Linked DNA regions of Homo sapiens: region 2 is linked to region 1. The links are contacts of gene promoters, found by promoter capture Hi-C in human tissues and cell types (Jung and others, 2019). All regions are on one chromosome and are shown on one strand. Each heading gives the region's core, a stretch centred on a gene start or on the middle of the fragment in contact. The rest is flanking DNA. Distances are from core to core; before and after follow the strand shown.

Evidence for each region. The method cuts DNA at HindIII sites, captures the fragments that hold promoters and counts their contacts. A contact is called where the count stands out against the background at its distance.
Region 2: a contact is called between a fragment that was not itself captured here and the fragment with the promoter of HSD17B11 in region 1, in 1 of the 25 tissues and cell types used here (hippocampus).

Annotation. Positions count from the first base shown.
Region 1 is chr4:87,388,291-87,394,222 of GRCh38, forward strand. It overlaps HSD17B11 (hydroxysteroid 17-beta dehydrogenase 11), which reads right to left and starts at 2,898. Exons shown (of 7, transcript NM_016245.5): 1 at 2,571-2,898. The coding sequence starts at 2,780. RefSeq lists enhancers at 3,110-3,179, 3,193-3,765. The HindIII fragment of the contact is 3,840 bases long and covers 2,872-5,932 here.
Region 2 is chr4:88,270,903-88,276,834 of GRCh38, forward strand. The region is part of intron 3 of PPM1K (protein phosphatase, Mg2+/Mn2+ dependent 1K); the gene reads right to left. It also overlaps the pseudogene RNU6-112P. Among named protein-coding and RNA genes, the nearest start is that of PPM1K, 11 kb to the right of the region's middle. The HindIII fragment of the contact is 6,866 bases long and covers 605-5,932 here.

The sequences.
Region 1 (5,932 bases), core at 1,648-4,147:
TAAGTCTGCAAAATCCAGCATGTATTTCCACTCACAGTGCATCTCAAATCAGACTGGCCACATTTTGAAAGGCTCAAGAGCCACAAGAGGCTAGGGGCTACTACCTACCACTGTGTTGCACAGAGTAGATCTAGACCTTTCTTGTGCTTCTCTCCCTTCCCTCAGTCTATGCCAGGCTTTGCATTTGCTGATCCCTCCCTGCAGGACTCACTGTGCTCTCAGCTTCTTCTGATATTGATTCAATTATCTCCATCTCAGTGGGGCCTTCCTGGCCACCACTGTAAAGTCAACACTCCCCTCCTACCCTCCCCACCATATAGAGTCTTTTATCTACTTTCACCTTTTATTTTTTTCTTTATGCTTAACACCATCTAACAATTATACATTTTATTATACAGTGTGGCATACTGCCCCTAGCTCATGAGGCTCATGTCTTCCTCAGTGCTATATCCTCAGTTCTGCATTAGAACAGTGCCTAACAGATAATAGGTGCTCAATAAATATTTGTTGGATAAATGCATGTCACTGAAGATCAGAGAAAATTTTGTACAAACCAGCACTGGACATTGGAAGTCATTAACCTAACTAACTCTTACATACATTTAAATTTTAGCTTAAACCACACTTTGTCAAGGAATAATAAGAACACTGCAGTGTGTTTACCTTATACCACACTGTGCTAAATGCTTTGTATGCATTATCTCATATCATACTGACAGCTTTTTGAGGTATGTATTGTTATTTTATCCATTTTGCAGAAAAGGAACTAAAGCTGTGGAAACGTTGAGTAAGTTACCCAATCAGAAAACGAAAGCTCAGATGTGTCTGACTATATCACCATGCCAGACCTTGACCATGCTGGTCCAGGCTGGACCTGGGTTGTATTTTTCATTGCTCTTGTAATTACTTTTTTATTTATTAATTTAATTTAATTAATTTATTTATTTTTAAGACAGAGTTTTGCTCTTGTTGCCCAAGCTGGAATGCAATGGCATGATCTCGGCTCACTGCAACCTCTGCCTCCCAGGTTCAAGCAGTTCTCCTGCCTCAGCCTCATGAGTAGCTGGGATTACAAGTACACGCCACCACGCTCAACTAATTTTTTGTATTTTTGGTAGAAATGGGGTTTCACCATGTTAGCCAGGCTGGTCTTGAACTCCTGACCTCAGGTCATCTGCCCGCCTCGGCCTCCAAAAGTGCTGGGATTACAAGTGTGAGCCACCGCATCCAGCCTGCACTTGTAATTACTTAATGTCCATTTTCCCTACTAGACTGAGGTCATGGAACCTTATTTTCTGTTTGTCACCCTATCCCTAATGTCTAAGCAGCAGACAGTCATTATTTGTTGATTGCTGTCTTCATCAGCCACTCACTGGGTTAACCCTCATTTAACTTCACATCCTTTGAATTATTGTTTACAGCATTGCATGTCAACTAGTGTGTAATGGATAATGTTTCAGGCCATCAGGTATCTTCTAGAAACCCCTTTGTTCATCTACCAAAGGTCAAATAAAAGGTTGGATTCTAGGTCCTCTTCTCCTCCCTAAGCCACACCTACACTTGTCCTAGGTAAAAAATTACACTGAAAGTTTTTTTCCCTTTTATTGTTTTTACTAAAAGATGCTTTCCCGCCACTCCTTCAGTATCACAGGTCAAACGTGGTAAAAAATGTTTTTTAAAAAAATTTGAGACAGGGTCTCACTCTGTCACCCAGGCTGGAGTGCAGTGGGGCGTTTACAGCTCACTGCAGTCTCCACCTCCCAGGCTCAAGCAACCCCCCACCTCAGCCTCCCGGAAAAGATGCTTTTTAAAATTACTCTTGGCAATAACTATGGCAATGTAGCATTGGTTTCTGTTGAGTATAATCTTTTTGTTTGTTTTTTGAGACGGAGTCTAGCTCTGTCGCCCAGGCTGAAGTGCAGTGGCGCCATCTTGGCTCACTGCAACCTCCGCCCCGCGGGGTTCCCGCCATTCTCCTGCCTCAGCCTCCCCAATAGCTGGGACTACAGACGCCCGCCACCACGCCCGGCTAATTTTTTTTTGGTATTTTTAGTAGAGACGGGGTTTCAGTGTGTTAGGATGGTCTCGATCTCCTGACCTCGCGATCCGCCTGCCTTGGACTCCCAAAGTGCTGGGATTACAGGCGTGAGCCAACGGCGAGTATAATCTTTCAAACCACTTTTCTCATTAACAGTAAGTAGGACTTTCTCTTAATAGGTACAAGCTTCTTACTCTTTTAATATATAGCTAAAACGATTGTTTTTTCCCTATTTTTAAAATAGAGGGATCAATGAAATCAGGTTCAGGAAAAAATTATGAGTTATCCTTAGGGCAAAAATGGGGATCAATTTACAAATGGGGCAGTAACTGGGACTATTATAACCTCTAGGTCTGTTTATCATGTGATCATACAACATATTAATTCATGCCCTCCCATCTGCAAAATGGCAATACTAATTTTTTTTTCCTCCCTGCTTTGCAGAGATGAGGTAAAGGGTGGTTGCCAGCAAAATGCAGACACATCCACAAATTAAAGGTACCAGAAAGTAAAACATAGTAAACACTGTTACCTTATTTATATCCCAGAGAACCAGCTTGCTTTTAAGTTTAGCAAATTCATAGGCAGTCAGTCTCCCAATTCCATGCCCAGCTCCTGTAATCAGCACGATTTCGCCGGTGACTGATTTTCTCCTCTTAGGAATAAAAAGCTTCACGAAGGACTCTAGGGAGCAGACGATCAGTAACGGGAGAAGCAGGAGGATGTCCAGAAGAAATTTCATCCCTTTTGTGGCTGCGAGCGTTTGGTGTGTTTTTTTTTTTTTTTACCACTCTAAACTGCTTTTAGAGGGTAGCTCGATCTAACACCAGAAAGAGTAGGGGCGAGAGCAAGGAGGAACTCCCGTATCAAAGAAAAACAACTCCGAAACCGTTCCTTCCGCTGGGCTGGGCTTTGTTGGTCTTTCGCAATTGGCTCGGGCTGCAGTGCTTGCTAGCTCAGAGATCTGGGAGGGACGAAGTCCAGACCGGAGCAAAGCTTCCTAGTTCTGCTTTGCGCAGCCCCCACGCGGTGTGTGGCCGCGATTGTCTTTTACACCACTTTCTCCCGGTGTCGTGAGCCGGCCTTGGAGGGTTAGTTGCTCACTTGTTTTCCTAAATTGGATAAGTTCCAAGGATAACCGACAGTGTCCACAGGCCAGATGCTTCTTTCATAGTTGAAGGTTGCTTATCACTAGATAGGGGGTGCCGCTGGGCGCGGCGGCTCTCGCCTGTGATCCTGGCACTTTGAGAAGCCCTGGCGGGAGGATCGCTTGACCCCAGGAGTTCGAGATCAGCCTGAACAACATAGGGAGACCCCCGGTCTCTTTTTTTTTTTTTTTAATTAGCCAGGCGTAGTGGCGTGTGCCTGTAGTTCCAGCTACTCGAGAGACTGAGGCACGGGAATTGCTTGAGTCCAGGAGGTGGAGGCTACAGTGAGTGAAGATCGCGCCACTGCACTCCAGCCTGGACGAAAAGGCCAGACTTTGTCCTAAAAAACAAAAACTAGATAGAGGATGCAAATGTAGATTCCTATCTTAAAGGATCCTGAAAAGACCAATCGTTCTGCTTCCAGCTGAGAAATTGCGCTACATCACATTTTAGTTTGAACTAAGCACGATTTCTGGAAGACAGGGGAAATTTTGTCTGTTCAAGGACAGCTTCAATCAAGCGCCAGAAAAAATTGTTATCGTATTAAAGGGATTGTTTCCACAAGAAAGAAGAGTATATTTGAATAATCATTTTTCACTTGACCTATTAGAGTTTGAAAATAAAAAATATATGTTGTACTTTAGGAATTTTATCTTTATTCAAGTGAATAAATAGCAAATCATTTAGCCTAAAGATTACCTATGTAACATTTGGTTTTGTAGCCTATATAAATGGGTATTCAGTATATGCTAACTAGTGACTTGAAAAAATTCTAGAGATTGGTTACTGGAAGAAAAGACCTAACTAGGGCTTGTGTCCAGTAAGAGCTTAATAATGGTATTGCATGCATTTTTTTCCAACTCATTTTTGACAGACATTGGATTTGGGTTTTGCGCAAGACACTCCAGTGCTTGGGAAGGGACTTTGTTGTGTGACAATAGTCAACTTTCATATTTAAGAGCCAGAAAGATCACACAAAAAAATCAAAGTTCACAAATAGTTCAAACTCGATTGTCCCTCTTACTTAAGCAGCCATACGTTGTTATAGGGGATGAAGGGATAGTGGCAGCCTCACAAAAGTGAACCCCATTATAGAATTCTTTGAATTCAGAATATCTACAACTTTTTTTTGGATAGCCTCCAAATCCAAATTTACAAAACACTTGTATAGAAAGTTTACAAAGTGTTCTTCCACATATATTATTTCATTTGATTTTCAAAAGCCTCCTAGGAAATAGAGAAAAGTAGAGTCAGGATATATTTATACCTATACTGTAAATGAATAAATCTGTTAGATCAACTTTAAAATCTACACAGTGAGTAAAAGTGTAACTGGGGCTACACATATGTTCAGTGTTTGTCAATTTTTTGGTCCAACACCTACAGGAATAAATTACATCTGACATGGTGATCTACTATAAGAAGTGTTTCAACTATGTTGAGTTTCATATATTGAGGCTCTAGCTATGCTATTTTTTTTTTTTTTAAAGGAGTCTCCCTCTGTCTCCAGGCTGGAGTGCAGTGGCGAAATCTTGGCTCACAGCAACCTCAACCTCCACCTCCCAGGTTCAAGCGATTCTCCTGCCTCAGCCTCCCAAGTAGCTGGGACTACAGGCACGCACCACCACACCCAGCTAATTTTTGTATTTTTAGTAGACAGGGTTTCCCCATGTTGGCTAGGATGGTCTCAATCTCGATCTCCTGTTCCACCCACCTTGGTCTTCCCAAGTGCTGGGATTACAGGCGTGAGCCATGGCACACGGTCTGGCTATGCTATTTCTTATTCCATTCTATTAATTAAAAAAAACTGGGTAGTTTTAACCTACAGTTGATCAAGGTTTCATTGGTTAAGGGAAAGAACACAGCATTTGGACGCAGTCGTACCTGAATCCCTTATGTGTATGTGACTTCATCTCTCTAAACATGTTTCTAAATTTGTAAAATTGAAATAATACTTACCCTACAGGATTCTTGTGACGTTCAAACGAGTTAATAGAAAGCACATTGCTTTATCAACTATTCAACTTTATGTAAATTATAATTAACACCAATAGAATGTGAGTGATGTGAATGGTCTTGTGAATGATGGTTGTAACATGATTTTGTGAACAGCAAACTAGATGTTTACAATTAAAATCATTCACAGTTAGAACACAGATTAGCTTCTATCTGACCACTATGTGATTTTATGTATTTGTGGTTTTAAAAAACATCTTTCATTGGTAGGGTTTAAAATATTTTGTACTTGGGACATCTGTTTTTTAAAAAATTTTTTATCTATTTATTTTGAGACCGGATTATGAGACTAGCTAATTTTTGTATTTTTGATAGAGGCAGGGTGTCCCTACCCTGGTAGAGGCTGGTCTTGAACTCCTGGGCTCAACCAATTCACCGGCCTTGGCCTCCCAAAGTGCTAGGATTACAAGTGCGAGCCACTGCACCCAGCCTATGTGGGGCATCTTAATTACATGCTGCCTTCCCAGAAGTTGAAATAGTATTTAAAAAAAAAAAAAAAAGATAAGGATAAGGGGGTATTTTTCTTTAATTTTTTTTTTTAAACCCTAACTTGAACCAGAAGAATAGGGGTCTTTCATCAGTGTCTTGAACACTTACTTACTATGGCCAGGCATATGCTTCTTCTGGAGCTTCCTCACCTCTCTCAGCCCTCACCTAACACATTTCATTTTATCTTCTCAATAACCTTAAGCAGTAGGTTCAATAGAAATCTCTATTATATGAATGAAGA
Region 2 (5,932 bases), core at 2,788-5,287, 880 kb after region 1:
TCATTTAACATTTAACATGGAAGTAAAAATTCTCACTTTTTGCCTAACAACAAAACTAGAAAACTAAGACATCTTTCAATAAGTTCTTAACACTCACTGGACAATTTCTACTGCAAGTCATCTCAACTAATGGGACAAAGAGATGTGGGAACCTTCCCGTAGTCCAGGATAGGAACCGCTGGACTCCTTCACCTGGGACAAAATTAAGCAGATCTCTCTTTCCACTGAAGCCCCGCATATAGTGTCCACGGGCTCCAGGTCTAGAGCTGCTGACCAGGCACAGTTCTCTGCCACAAATAACACGCACAGAGGCAAATACGAATTTCACCCAGGAATTGTGCTCAAACATTACAAACCTGCAACACAGGGGAGAGCAGAGAAAGAGCTGCAAAATAAGGGAAGGGTTTTTTATTTTGGTGAAAATTTAACTAGCAAATTATATAATATTCCAGGAGATGCCAAATCAATTATTCCAAAACTCAGTTTGTTCCAGTTGATGGTATTTTGTAGTTGAGCCTATTTTTTCATCACAGGGTAACACTTCTTTCTTAATTTTGTGGTTTCTAAGGTTGAAAAAACTATATAAAAAAGTATCTGTACCAAGACACATAAATGGTGACACAGACCTACATTTAACACACTCACAAAAACACTCACGCATATACACATTCACTGAAATAATTGGTCTTAAACACAGTAAATCACTACCTTTACTGAGTTACAAAAAATGCACTGTAAATTTGTTTGGTAGCAATATCAGAATTGTCTCAAGAATAGAAAGGTAAATCTACAGTTACAGCATGGAAGAATTTGTATCTGACAAGCAGGATGTAAACTACAGTATACCACCAAATTACTGGGACTTAAATATATATCAAGAAGGAATCAAAGCACCCGCTATACAAGATACATAGAGTAATGCATTTGTTAATGGTGCTTAATGCAGAGACTTAGTACCTATAAGGCATTTTTGAGTAGAATGATTAATTTAAATTCATTGCTTAAATAAAGGCTAGCGAGACGCATGTTTATAATTTTGTATAATTCACAAAATGGGTATTTCTGCAGCTCTCTCTTTCCCCCAGTGTTGCAGGCCGACACATCAAAAGAAAAATGATCAAGATTGTGAATGCCAACATAAAGAGCAAAAGCTATACTTTTCAAAGTATAATGACCCCTAGTAATTACTCAATTGTGTAAATAATACTATGTATAAACCAATACAGTTTCAATATTTATTAAAAATGGGTGTTCTAGACTCATGACTCATGAACACCAAAATCAAAGTAATGAGCTGAAGCAGTAGCAGCACGGTAAGAACATCTCATCAATGCTCTCTTTTTTTTTCTTTTGGCTGTCCCGGCATAGGGGATTCAAAAATGCTGTGTTTACAGCCCTGGTTCTTTTGTAGTTTAATTCTTCCATAAAGAGGTCACAGGATATGAAGAACATAAAAGTTTCTGGTGAGACTCATAATGCCATCAATGTCCCCCACTCTGAATGTCTGAGCAAGTCTTCTCTTTTTGTTCCATTTGTCCCTTTCGGAGCTTTGTTGCTTTCAAAGTTTAAGCAATCTGGAAACACTCTGAAGAGCTTATAGGAAATATAGAATTATAACCTAATTTTCTACCATCTAGTTTGTTCTAAGTGGCTATCTCTTTATAAACAACGGACTGGTGGGATATCATCCGGATTTACTGGCTGCTTTTATTAATTGTAAAAGTAGACATTACTGGTATAAATTGAATAAAAAAATTAAAAGATGGTGATGAAATTTGCTACTGATAACTAAGGACAGGTTGAAAATGCATTAACAAAAAAGCAATAAAAATAGCTGACAATTTCTTAAGGGCAAGGGAATCTTGTTCTTGCCATTTCTTGATAAGTGGCATTTTGATTTTATTCTTTTCAAAATATCCCCAGCTACAACAGTAAATTATTTTATTTTATTTTCTACTCAAACAATAAGCTTTTATTATATTTTACAGATCAGTCATCCAGGACATGCTGCGTCTGTGGTTGGCATCGTCTCATTTCTGAAAGGACTGAATGCACATAAAAGTCTCTTGCCCACGCTGAACTCACACATGCCGGGCAGAAAAGAGCTCTCACTAAGTGTAACTTGAGTGTGAACTTGCTCAGGCAACAGCAATGCCATTCAACAGTAAATATTTTAAATGTTAGTAAGATAATTTGAAGTTCTTTATGTAGCTGTAACAGCTTTGGAACTGAAGTTGAGAGGAGATAAGAATGTTTTAATTTCACTTAAGAAAGTTAATATGGTATTGATACAGGAGCTAGAAATAAATTATGTAGGCACATAGTGAGGGTAAAGGAGTCCGTGGCAAGGCTTCCCTTTTAACAAAAAGCAGCCTCCAAACCATTTCTTTTCTAACAAAGAGCAACCTGAAAAATTGAGCTGCAAACATAAATAAGCAAGCTGGAAGCTTGCACAGGTGAATGCCAGCAGCTGTGCCAATAGAAAAGTACTACCTGGGCTGGGCACAATGGCTCACGCCTGTAATCCCAGCACTTTGGGAGGCCAAGGCGGACAGATCACCCAAGGTCGGGAGTTAGAGACCAGCCTGACCAACATGGCAAAACCCCGCCTCTACTAAAAATACAAAAATTAGGTAGGCATGGTGGCAGGCGCCTATAATCCCAGGTACTTGGGAGGCTGAGGCAGGGGAATCACTTGAACCTGGGAGGTGGAGGTTGCAGTGAGCTGAAATTGCACCATTGCACTCTAGCCTGGGAGACTAGAGCAAAACTGTCTCAAAAAAAAAAAAAAAGAAAAAGAAAAGGGCTACCTGGGGCCAAGCATGTTCAATATGTTCCATCTTCCCTTTTCTTTGTCACCATGTGTAAAGAAATGGGCAACATGGCGCTGGCCAGGTAGAGAACCCATCTGCATAATAAAAGATTAGGGTGGGGGTGGCCAGATTCTTGAATGCTCTGCAAATTGCACACCTAGGCCTAATCAGTTTTTCGTGTGCTATGCAAATGGCACATCTGGTCCAACCAATCTTTCATGCCCTATGTAAATCAGACACTGCCTCCTCAAGTTCATCCATAAAGCCTCCTGCACTTCACCATGGACTAGAAAGCTGTTTGGGACCCCTCTTTTTGCAGGAGAGAGCTTTTCTCTTTCTTTCACCTATTAAGTCTCCACTCCTAACCTCACTCCTTGTGTGTCCTCGTCCTTGATTTCCTTGGTATGAGACAATGAAACTCAAGTATTACGCCAGACGAGCAATGCTGCTTCAGTAGGACTGAGCGGCACGCCTCTCTTTTATACCTAAAATCTCACCATTAGTAATTCACTTCTATGGTTTAAGCCTTTTTCAGGTGTCTGCTAACTAAAATTCAAATCCACCCAGGAGTGACAGCTCATTAAAATGCAAACATTTTATAATAATTTGATTAAATCAGCTATATGATAATCAAAGAAAAAATTACAGTAACTTCAGTGAGAAAGAGTCAGCGTGGAGATCTCAGTTCAATCCAAATAATTATTGAGTACCTGCCAGGTTCTATGCAGGGTGCTGCACACTGGAGATTCAAAAATGAATAAGCCACAGTCCTTCACCTCACAGGAAGGGTTCAAGAAGAGGGGAAAGGGGTTAATACTAAAAGAGAAAAGATGAAAGAAACTGGAGAGGGTAAACTGCACTTACTACAAAATTTTGTTTCACTGGCACTGGTCCTATCTATATACATAGGCCGAAAAGAATATTATCCACTCTTATAATACTGATACTGCTTCAGTTCTTGCTAAAAACTAAAGTTTTAAACTTAAATAATAACTTTGAAATTTAAAATGACATTTTAAAAAATCCATAAACTGAACAGTTACACAACATATGGCATTCTATCTTTAGTGGCTTTAATGTATTTGATAAAATAGGCCCTAAATATCAAGACAATTTTTGCCATCTTTGAAGGCTCTGGCAACTTATCAAGAATAAAATTTTTAAATGTTCTCAAAACACTAATTTTTAAAAAACACAGACCGATAAGAATATATACAAAATAAGATTTTAATAACAAATAACAAATTTAATAACAAAATAAGATTTAATAACAATATTATAATAGACCTTTTCTTTTAGTACACACTAAGAGCATCATCTTGTCTTGCTCCATTATACTTTCAAACAAATTACCATTATATGAAAAATACATTTTAAAATATCTTAAGAATGTTCTGGGATCATTACTTCAAAGCATATGATAGAGGAATTAAATTAAATAATGCATTTTAATTTCTTTATTACAAATGAATTGATTTTAGTAAGAATAAAAAATATGGAACTCTTCATGCATTTGTGTGCCATCCTTGCACAAGGACCATGCTGATCTCTGTATCATTCCAATTTTAGTGTATGTGCTGCTGAAGTTAGCATATGAATTACATTTTTGTGATTAATTTCTTTATACAACTGTTTAATGTTTTTGTGACAAAGGTATCTTTAGAAAGTTTCTTTTAAGATAGGCAAGTTAATTAAATTCTTTAAGTTCAAAATTCTGTTGAGTTATACTTCATTCAATAATAAAAGGAGTCCTGTCATATTTTACATCAAGTCAATCACCGATTGGTTTAAGCATCTACATTGACTAGATACTTTTAAAAGAGGCTGATGGCATTGAGAAGGCCAATGTTTTTGGTTGGTGGTCACATGCCTGGGATAAATTTGGACATTCTCATCCAAAAACCTTGCCCAGTAAGCTGCAGCTATTTACAGAACAGCTGGGGCACACCACCGACACTACAGTCAACAAACATTGTGGTGTGAGACATAGCCAGATGCACAGCCAACTCAGTTACTATGAAATAAGAGCATACCAAAATTCAGGAAGTAATAAAAATAAAACCATAAGAAAATATTTCATTTCCTCTTTTCCTTCATGTGTTTTAACTATTTGGAACAAGAGCTAAGTCTTATGCATAAAGTTTACCTCTTTCAGCTTCTGTCTTCTTAAAGGTAAGGGTCCAGTTGAAAGGAAAAAGAAAAATTCCAAAGGAATGAAAGAAAAGAAAATGGGCCTAAATGATCTACAAACTGGAAAACATATCCCTGAAGAGAGTGGACTGTAATGCTTTCCTGAGGAGTGTGATAGTAAGGTTCTCAAAAAAAGCTCAGGAAAAAATCTCAAGATGGTAAATAGAGCCATCGCAGAGTTACCTTCTCCTCTCCTCATGAGAGAAGAGAGATAATGCTGGTGGTCAGGAAAATCCCAGCCCTAACTCTGAACTGACCTTTACCACTCTAATCTTCAGTTCCTTCGCTGTGAAATGCAAACAATCTCTATCCTTATGTATTCCAACTGAAGACTGTGCAAATGACATTTCTGTGGTGCACTTGGTTTCTTTCTTTTTTTTAAGAAAAGGATGAACCAAATACAGATCAAGATTATTGCATGATTCATTTTCAAATCATTTACAAGGTTACATGCACACATTCATTTGGCTGGTACAGAAATTTTCAGGGTTAACTTTAACAGCAAAAGATTTGGGACTAGCTAACTAGAAAACGTTTGCTGAATTTTCGTGAAATGGTTTTGATAAATTTAGTCAAAACCAGAAACATTTCACTTTCAAAATTTAAGGACATACAGTACACAAAATTTTAAATTCAGCTAGCATGACCTTATGCTGAAAATATCACTAGTTACCAGAGAAAAGCTGCAAGATTGAGCTTTTTAAGAAGTGACAGAAAAATATTTTCCTTCTAGTTATACAAATTAGTGCATATTAACCATTGTCTTTTTCTATTTAGGACCTATTTGCAATTTTTTTCTTGTTGGACAATGACTGTCCTCGCTAGATGTGATTACCCTGTAGTGTATTTCAGCACTTGGTCACCAGATCCATCTAAAAAAAAAACCAAAAACCCAAAACAAAACTCATAGTATGGACATTTTGTCCATA